Regions from separate parts of the Homo sapiens genome. Here region 1 is linked to region 2. Evidence: promoter capture Hi-C in 16 types of primary human blood cells and fetal thymus (Javierre and others, 2016). All regions are on one chromosome and are shown on one strand. Each heading gives the region's core, a stretch centred on a gene start or on the middle of the fragment in contact. The rest is flanking DNA. Distances are from core to core; before and after follow the strand shown. Region 1 overlaps ZNF264 (zinc finger protein 264). Region 2 holds the start of ZNF227 (zinc finger protein 227).

The links. The method cuts DNA at HindIII sites, captures the fragments that hold promoters and counts their contacts. A CHiCAGO score of 5 or more calls a contact.
Region 1: a fragment that was not itself captured here is called in contact with the fragment with the promoter of ZNF227 in region 2 in 1 of 17 cell types (total CD4 T cells); the score reaches 7.6 in total CD4 T cells.

What each region holds. Positions count from the first base shown.
Region 1 is chr19:57,214,506-57,219,450 of GRCh38, forward strand. ZNF264 (zinc finger protein 264) reads left to right here. Exons shown (of 4, transcript NM_003417.5): 4 at 1-4,945. Among named protein-coding and RNA genes, the nearest start is that of AURKC, 14 kb to the right of the region's middle. The HindIII fragment of the contact is 1,748 bases long and covers 2,122-3,869 here.
Region 2 is chr19:44,208,757-44,213,987 of GRCh38, forward strand. ZNF227 (zinc finger protein 227) reads left to right here and starts at 3,776. Exons shown (of 6, transcript NM_182490.3): 1 at 3,776-3,829; 2 at 4,334-4,488. The HindIII fragment of the contact is 5,683 bases long and covers 2,852-5,231 here.

The DNA.
Region 1 (4,945 bases), core at 1,746-4,245, about 13 Mb after region 2:
CAGTCCCAGCTAATTTTTGTATTTTTTGGTAGAGACAGGGTTTCACCATGGTGCCCAGGCTGGTCTTGAACTCCTGGGCTCAAGCAACCTGCTTGCCTGGGTCTCCCAAAGTGCTGGGATTACAGGCGTGAGCCACAGTGCACAGCATGTTCAGTTTTTCATCATGAAGTATAATGTAAGTTTTATAAAACATATGTCCTCTATAAGGGTAAAAAATTTCCTCTGTTCCCAGTTTTCTGAGACTCTGTGTTGCTATGAATAAGTGTGGAATTTTGTTCAGTACTTTTTCTCCACCAGTTGATGTCATTATGCTATTTTCCTTCTACATCCTATTGATGGAATGTATTGCTTTGATCAAGTTTTGAATATTGAGCCAGCCTTGCATCCTTAGAATAAACCATACTTGTTTGTAGAGTATAATTGTTTTTATATATCATTTGACATCATTCCCTTTGTTTGTATTTTGTTGAGGAAATATTCCTCTAATTTATTGGCTAATAATGTGTAGTTCTTTTTTCTTTTGTTTCTTATGTTCTAAATGTCTTATGTGTGGTTTTGATGTCTAGGTGATCTTGACCTTTCAACATGAATTGGAAGGAGTTCTCTTCTAATTTTTGGAAGACTGTGTAGAATTGGTGTTATTTGTTCTTGTCATGTTTGATGACCTCTAGTCAACCATTGGGCCAGAGATTTTTCTTCTGGAGGCTTTTAAATTACATATTTATTTTATTGGATAGGTAGAACTATTCGAAGTATCTATTTCTTGTGTAATAAATTTTGATAGTCTGTCCTGTTGAAGGAATATTTCATCTGTATTTGTAGCACTCCCTTATTCTTTTGATAGCAGGATCTGCACTTCTTTTTATTTTTAATATTTAAAATGTGCATACTCATTTTATGATTGAGTCTTCTTAGACATTTATCAGTTTTATTGCGCATCATGCTGAAAGATGTAATTTTTGCTTCATCTCTCACTTCAGAGAACTAGCACTTTATATTAATGATTTGTCTCTATTCTTGATTTCTTTGATTTCTGCTCTGATCGGTATTATATTCCACTTGCTTTGGTTGTATTTGGCTCTTTCTAACTTTTCAAGGTGGGGTTTTAGATTATTGATTTGAGATTTTTTTGCTTTTTTAATGTAAGCATTACATTGTATAAATTTACCTCATATCACTATTGGTTTGATCCCACAAGTTTTAATGTTTTCATTACATTTTAATTCTAATAGTTTTTATTTTTTGAGACATTCTCTCTTAGCCATGAATTATTTAATAGTATGCTTAATTTTCTGGTGTTTGGCATATTTGTTACTGATTTCTAATTTGTTCCATGTTTGATCTGACTGTTTAAATGTGTTAACATTTTTTTATGACCCAGGATAGGGTCTATCTTGTTTCGTATAGCTGCTTGAAAAGAATGGGTGTTCTGCTGTTACTGGGTGGAGTTTCTATAAATGTCTCTATGATCCTGCTCATTGTTATTCAAGTCAGCTATGTCCTTGCTGATTTTCTGTCCAGCATTTCTGTCAGTTGCTGAGAGGGGTGTTGAAGTCCTGAACATAGGCCGGGTGCAGTGGCTCACGCCTGTAATCCTAGCACTTTGAGACCACTAAGGCAGGTGGATCACCTGAGGCCAGGAGTTCGAGACCAGCCTGGCCAACATGGCAAAACCCTGTCTACTAAAAATACAAAAATTAGCCAGGCATGGTGGCGTGTGCCTGTAATCCCAGCTGCTGGGGGGCTGAGGCAGGAGGATCAGTTGAACGTGGGAGGCAGAGGTTGCAGTGAGCTGAGATCTCACCACTGCACTCCAGCCTGGGCAACAGAGCGAGACTCTGTCTCAACAACAACAACAAAAAGTCCTGAACATGATTGTGGAAGTGTGTTGCTCTTTCAAGTTCTATCACTTTTTGTTTGCAAAGTTCAAAGCTGTATTGTTTGGTACATATACATGTAGGTTTGCCAAGTCTTTGTGGTGAATTGACTCTTCTGTCATTATGTGATGTCATTTTTTTGCCTTTTAATAGTCTTGTCAATACTTTACCTGATGTTCTCATAGTGACTCCTGCATATTTTGATTAATGTTTGCATGGTTAATATTTCTTCATTTTATTTTAAAGCTTACCTGTATCATTACTTATGAAGTCAGTTTCTTTGAACAGCATATACTCAGGCCATGCTTTTTTTATTCATTCTGCATATGTCTCTCTTAATTGGTATGTTGAAATGATTTACATTAAAATAATTATTGATATTTTAGGGCTTAAGTGTGCCCTTAAATGATTTTTGTGTTCTTTTTTATTGTTCCTCTGTTATTTGGGGTTGTTTACTAGTCTTCCTATAGGTTACTTCACCTTTTTTTTTTTTAATAATTTGATTTGATACATATGTAGTGTTTTTTAGTATAGATCCTCCTTGACTTATGATGGGGTTATGTCACAATAAACCCATTGCAAGTTGAAAATACTATGTCAAATATGCATTTAATACACCTACCCTGCTGAACATCATAGCCGATCTTGCCTTCAGAATGCTCAGAAAATTTACATTAGCCTGCAGTTGGGCAAAATCATCTAACACAAGGCCTACTTTATAATAAAGTTACTGCAAAGAATTTTAAATAAAAATTCAAGTGTGGTTTCTACTGAATGCATGTCGCATTCGCACCATTGTAAAGTCAAGTAGTAAGTCGAACCATCCTAAGTCAGGGACTGTCTGTATATATCTGCATTTTTTAGTGATTGTTCTACTATTACAGTGTAAATATATAACTTATGACAGTTTAATAAGTTATCAGCAATTTAGCACTTTACTTCCATTAGGTTCCTTTAGCTTACCTACTAATGTAACTATCTTAAGTAATAGTAATTCCTCTTCAAAAATTGAGCGCTATGTTGCAAGATGTAATTTTTCTTTTCCTTTTTTTTGAGACCAAGTCTCACTCTGTCACCCACGCTGGAGTGCTGTGATGCGATCTCGGCTCTCTGCAACCTCTGCCTCCCGGGTTCAAGCAATTAACTGCCTCAGCTTCCCTAGTAATGGATTACAGGCGCCCGCCACCACGCCTGGCTAATTTTTGTATTTTTAGTAGAGACGGGGTTTCACCATCTTGGCCAGGTTGGTCTTGAACTCTTGACCTCATGATCCACCCGCCTCGGCCCCCCAAAGTGCTGGGGTTACAGGTGTGAGCCACTGCACCCGGCCACAAGATGTAATTTTTACTTTATCTCTCACACGTATTTTACAAAACGTCATGAGAAACATTGTCTCTTGACCTTTTTTTTTTTTTTTTTTTTTTAAAGAGACAGAGTCTCACTCTGTCACCCAGGCTGGAGTGCAGTGGCACGATCTTGGCTCACTGCAACCTCCGCCTCCTGGGTTCAAGCGATTCTCCTGCCTCAGCCTCCTGAGTAGCTGGGATTACAGGTGTGCGCCGCCACACCCAGCTAATTTTGTATTTTTAGTAGAGACGGGGTTTCACCATGTTGCTCAGGCTGGTCTCAAACTCCTGACCTTGTGATCCGCCAACCTTGGCCTGTCGACCTCTTTACCCATTCCATTGTTCATTCTTCTTTCTTGAAATCCCAAACCTTCTATTAACATTTCTTTTCAGTTATACACTGAACTTTACTGTAGCCTTTCTTCTAGAGTAACAAATGTTCTTTGTTTTCCTTCCTCTAAAGATGTCTTTATGTTTCCTTCATTCCCAAAGAATATTTTTGTGGAATATAAGATTCAGAGTTGGCAGTTGTTTTCTTTTAGACTTCAGAGATGTATCTCTCTGTTCTGTACATTATTGTTTAATATAAGAAACCTACTAGCATTCAAATAATCATTCCCTATTTTACAATGCATCAGTTCTGTCAAGCTTCATTCAAAGTGTTTTTCATTGTCTCTAGTGTTCAGAAGTTTGGCTGTGATGTGCGTGGCATGGAAGTTTTTGGGTGTATTCTATTTGGCGCTCCCTGGTGCTTGCCCAGCTTTTTGATCTGTAGGATTATGCCTTTTGCAAAATTTGGGGAACTTTCAACTATTATTTCTTCAAATATTTTTTCACCCCCCAGTCTTGTCTTTTTTAGGGACTTCAATAACATGAGTGGCAGATCTTGTTTTACACTCCCATGGGTCCTTCAGGCTCTCATCTTTTTTCTTTTTCCAGTCTATTTTCTGTCTTGTTAATATTGATTAATTTTTATTGACCTTCCATGGTCCTCACTGATTGTTTTCTTTGTCATACCTAATCTGTTGAGTTTGTGCAGTGAGTTTTCATTTTGGTTTTGTATTTTCCAGTTGTTTAATTTCCATTGGGTGGGTTCTTTTGTACACCTTCTGTTTCTTTGCTTATTTTTTAACGCCAAAGAAAGACTCTCAGAGAATAGACAACTATATTCCAAAGTCATGGTTCTCTGGTGGTTTGTCTTGACATTTGAATAGAAATGTTAAACTATCTGGGGGAATAGAAAGCCCACAGTCTTCTGAGTTGTGCTACACCAATATTTCTATGAACAGATCTTACAACTGAGAGTGATCTGCAGATTTTTCAGAGTCATGTTCTCCATGGAATGTTTGTAAAATTCCCTAGCTCTCTGCACTGAGCTGAGATCGTGCCACTGCACTCCAGCCTGGGCAACAGAGCGAGACTCCATCTCAAAAAAAAAAAAAATTCTCTAGCTCTCTATGCCTTGTTGTATCCTCAGGAAGGAGTCACCTCTCTTCCAGGATCACTCTTGCCTTTTGTTATTGGACACATTTTCCTACCTCCTGCCCAGTCTTTTTTAGGCTCTCTGTCATACTTCCTCGCCTAGTCTTTAACTTGTCTCTGATAACCAGATTTTTCCCCCATAATCTGTATCTGTATTCAAGTCTCTATCCTCATCCCCAAATGGATTTCACCCCGCTTGTCCATCAGTCTCTGCCCATTTCTTCTGTCTCCCACAGACAT
Region 2 (5,231 bases), core at 2,526-5,025:
ATGGTTTGTGGAAGTCTTTTTCTATCAGGTTTGGAAGGTGATCTGGGGCTTTAGAGTCTATATTCTCCTTATAGAAATAATGCATGACCATTATAGAGAGATTAGAAAATACAGAAATGTATAAAAGGAAATGAAAGTTACCCATATTCACTGCTGTATATTTAAACAATTAGCTGGGTGTGGTGGCACATACCGATAGTCCCAGCTACTTGGGAGGCTGAGGTGGGAGGATCGCTTGAGCTCAGGAGTTTGAAGCTGCAGTGAGCTATGACCACGGCACTGCACTCCAGCTTGGATGACAGCGAGACCCCGTTCCTTTAACCCATAATCTCAGGATTTAGAGATAACCACTGCTAACATTTTAAATGCATTTATGCATTGGTGCCATACCACCCACATGGTATTTCTCTAATTTTTCTTGTAGAAATTCCCAAACATGCACATACAGAAAATAGTGTTAATGACCCCCACCCCGCCATCATTTGTCTTTAACTCTTGTAAACATTTTGTCTATCTTATTGCATCTATTACTCTTCTCCCACATATGTTTTTGGTGGGAAGAGGAGGAATTTGACTATTTAAAATCAAAACCAAATCCTAGTCAGTCGGTAGAAATTAAAAGTAATTAACATAAAGTAATTATGAATGAAGAGCAAAGGAAAGCAAATAACTTCAGGGTTTTCTTTCCTGGCAACTAGGAGGAAGGTAGTTATGTGAAAAACCTAAAGGAGAGGGAATCATTGAGATTTGGAAAGGAATAGTTATGAATTTGGCTTCTTTATTTGGAATGTTTTACTCAGGGTCTTTTATTTATTTATTTATTTATTCATTTTTATTTATTTATTTTTGAGACGGAGTCTCGCTCTGTCGCCCAGGCTGGAGTGCAGTGGCGCGATCTCGGCTCACTGCAAGCTCCACCTCCCGGGTTCACGCCATTCTCCTGCCTCAGCCTCCTGAGTAGCTGGGACTACAGGCGCCCATCACCACACCCGGCTAATTTTTTGTATTTTTAGTAGAGACGGGGTTTCACCGTGTTAGCCAGGATGGTTTCGATTTCCTGACCTCGTGATCTGCCCACCTCGGCCTCCCAAAGTGCTGGGATTACAGGCGTGAGCCACAGAGTCCGGCCTACTCAGGGTCTTTTAGATCTGATCTGTTTCTCCCTTAGGCTGCATGTTACTTTGTTGCAGGAACTATGTCCCATTCTTTACCATGTGCTTAGCACCCAGCACAAGACTGGTAAGGAGGGGTTTAGTGTTTGTGGTTTGTGGAGCTGCCCAGTATCTTGAAATGGAAACCTGCAGATCATTTAGATTGTATTCAGAATTCCCAAAATGGATTTAGGAAAAAATAAAAGGAAATAATGTCAATATTAGTGACTCTTTATCTCACTTTTGGTGGGATGCATTTGCATAGTCTTCTAGTTTTTTTCCCAGTAATCAAAAGTTGATGCATGGTTATTGATAATATTTTAGTGATCAAAGCAAATTTTTGTAGAAACCTTCCATCCATAATTTATGTGTCCTGTGTTTATCCCCTGAGGTTAACATTTGCTAACTTTTTATAGGGTAGTCATGAATCAGGCAGAATTTCCAGTGTTTTACATGTATTTATTCATTTGTACTTGATATCAACCCTATTATAGTCTCCATTTTACAAATGAAGAAAAAGGGGACAGAAGAAATGGAAGCACTAGTATTTTAATCTAGATAGCTTTATACTAAGGCTGTAATATTAGCTACTACACACTACTTTTATTAGTCTACAAGGCAAGAACCCACAGTAAGTCTTATTAGAGCAGGGAATATTTAAGCTATGGATGAAGACCGTCACCCAGGAGGGAAAAGAGTAGCAGGTTATGACAGAAGGAACACCAAATACAAAGAATTAGAGGCTTTTTGTAGGAGTACAAGTAATCCACTATGGCTGGACATGTAGAGTGGAAAGTGGATTCCAAGAGAGAAACAGCATCTGGAAAATTCCTGTTTGTGCGACTTGTTAAAGCATTTGAACCTTCTCTTAAGGGCACTGGATAGACATGCAGGTGAAAATAATCAAATTTCCATCTTAGGAGATATACTTAACCTCTCTCTGCCTCTGGATCCCAAAGAGTAAACTAGAGGACATTATTTGTTTTAAAAAAGTTGTGAAAATGGGCTAAGTGTGGTGGCTCATGCCTGTAATCCTAGCACTTTGGGAGGCCGGGGCGGGTGGATCACCTGAGGTCAGGAATTCAAGACTAGCCTGGCCAAGATGGCAAAACCCCGTCTCTACTAAAAATACAAAAATTAGCTGGGCGTGGTGGGGAGGGGGGTGCCTATAACCCCAGCGACTTGGGAGGCTGAGGCAGGAGACTTGCTTGAACCTTGTGTGAGGGCGGAGGTTGCAATGAGCCGAGGTCATGCCACTTCACTCCAGCCTGGGCAAAAGAGCCAAACTCTGTCTAACAACAACAACAACAACAACAACAACAAAACAGAACAAAAAAAAAAAGAAAAAAGTTGTGAAAATGTAGTGAGGGTCCCATAGTCTGAATAGTTTGAACTAGTTCCTGGCACATACTTGGTTCTTTATAAGAGATAGTTGTATATAACAGAATAAAGAATATATATTTAGTAAATGAGAACTGCAAACATGTACTGTAGTAGATATGTGGATATTTTTAGGTATTGCTCTCTTCTTTCAACCCTCAATTCTTGGAAACATCAATTCCATTATACATTTAAGCAAATAAAGATCAAGGTTTAAACACTGAAGTAATAAATTTGTTCATCTTTCAAATTCAGAAACTCCTTGAGGAATGATTACAGAGGCCCTAGTTGCTTTGTGGAGTTGATCTACCATATGCCAAAGCTTGTGTTTTCTATGTCTAGCTATCCTCAGTAAGCAAGTTGTTCTGAATTATATGACTGTGCTATTAAGAAAAGTGGAAATCCATAATATATTCTGCCTTCGTTGCATTTTTTGATTGCTCTTTCATTCTTTTAGTATCTAAAGAGTAGTTTTTCTATTAGTCGATCCTGTTAAATGTAAAAACTTAAAGGGTTTCCTCTGCCCTTTTTTTTTTTTTTTTTGGAAGTGGTGGGTATAATTCTATTAGTACAGGATCACGTGATCTGTTTCTTATAATAGTTTTTTTTTTCTTTTTTTTTTTTTTGAGACAGAGTCTCACTCTGTCGCCCAGGCTGGAGTGCAGTGGCACGATCTTGGCTCACTGCACCCTCCAGGGTTCAAGCGATTCTTATGCCTCAGCCTCCCAAGTAGCTGGGACTACAGGCGCGCGCCACCACGCCCGGCTAATTTTTATATTTTTAGTAGAGACGGGGCTTCATCATATTGGCCAAGCTGGTCTGGAACTCCTGACCTCGTGATCCGCCCGCCTCGGCCTCCCAAAGTGCTGGGAGTCTTTTTTTATTTTAGGGCTCCAATTCTTCACATATTTGCTGTTACTTTTTGTTAATAAGAAAAACCTAAATTCCACTGACATCAGAGAACTGCTTCAGCCTGGCTAAACAGCAATAAGCCGTGAAGAGGATTCTGGATGTTGTAGTCCGGGAGCTCCGAGAATTTTGTCACACTCTCCGTAACCCTCTCTCACTCGCTCGCTCCGTTTTTTTTTTTGTTTTTTTTTTTTTCAAGCGCGAAGAGGGCGGCACCTGGATGGTTTTTCCTTCTGGAAGTTCTGGGAAACGTATTCCAGAACTCTGTCCGGAAACAATTGGGCCGCAGGAGCGCGGGCCTTCTGGGAAGGGTAGTTCAGGAGCTCTGGGCAGGCAGAGCCACTTCCGCCCCGGAAAGCGAGGCCGCCACCATCTTTTGGGTCCGGGAGGTGAGTCAGCCCTGCACCCCCACGACCCCTCTTGAACCTTTTCAGCCTGTGCTTGGGAATAGGCGCTCCCCAGCCATCAGTCTTGGGATGGAGAGGTCGCGGCCGCGGCGGAGGCCGAGAGGCCGAGGGCGGGAAGTTTGCTCTCCTCCCGCACTTGGCAAGCAGCGCCGCTAGTTCTGTGGGTATAATAAACAGCGAGTTACCTATGATCCGCGCTCCTGTTTCCTCATCTTTAAAATAGCAATAAAGATAGTCGTTACTGTGTAGGGTTGTAATTAGAATTAAACAAGATAATACGGGTCAAACCTTAGAACAGTGGTGGCACCTGATACTGGGTTGGCTCCTGCTATTGATACAGTGATTCCCTCACAAGCGCCCTTTTTACTGGAAGCTCCAGTGAAGAGAGAAGAAAAGTCAGGGCTTTATGCCATGGCCTTTCTGTCGTATCCTTCAGGAGACCGAGCTCTTCCCGAACTTTTACAGATCTTTTTTTTTTTTAAGAAGGATTGAGTCATCGGGCTCCAATGCGTGGGGATGTTTACCGCCGTTTATCCGGGATAGAGACTCCATCGTGCTGACAGCATCCTTTTATTCACCGCCTCCGAATTTGCAAAGAGGAGGAAGGAGGGACTTCTTGGCTTCTCCCAGCATAGCCCCAGGTACCTGCTCTTGAACGCACTTTGTTGTTCCATTTTCTGTCCTTTCAGTTAATCAAGTTTCCGTCACTCAGTAAGTTACTACTGAAAAATGATGAAATATTTGTTGAATAAATGTGAGAGTGGGTAGGAAAACTACTTGGAAATGAGTATTACCAATAACATCTTACCACTTTGATTTTAAGGCATTCGTCTGTGGACCATAGCTATTGATGAAGTAGGTCTTGTTATTTTGTTATGAGGAAATTAGGCAGAGTTTATGTTATTAAATACTTTCCCGAAGTTATTCAACTGATAGTAAGAGGTGGATTTGGGATTGAACCCAAGCATTCCTTTTCAGACTGTGTGATCTTTTTTGTTTGTTTTTGTTTCTTTGGTTTTTGTTGTTGTTTATTTTCTATTCCTTTTTCTGAGTCTGTGGTCTTAATCTCAATGATACAGTCGTCTTCAGTTATCTTAAATAGTAATCCATATGGCTACCGGTGAGTCGTTGGAAATCAGCCTTGGGAATGTAGGTATGGATTTTACTGTGGAAGACCTCAAAAACTGCACTGATGAATTTTGAATTTTTTAGAAAAATCCTGCAACATCTCACTTACTTAATTTCATTCCATGTCAAAATATGTCATATTCTAGTTATAGAAGTAATGAATGCTCATTATAGAGATGCACTATCCAATCCAGTAGCTATAAGCCATGTGTGCCCTAGGAGCACTTGAAATGTGTCTAGTCCAAATTGAGATGTG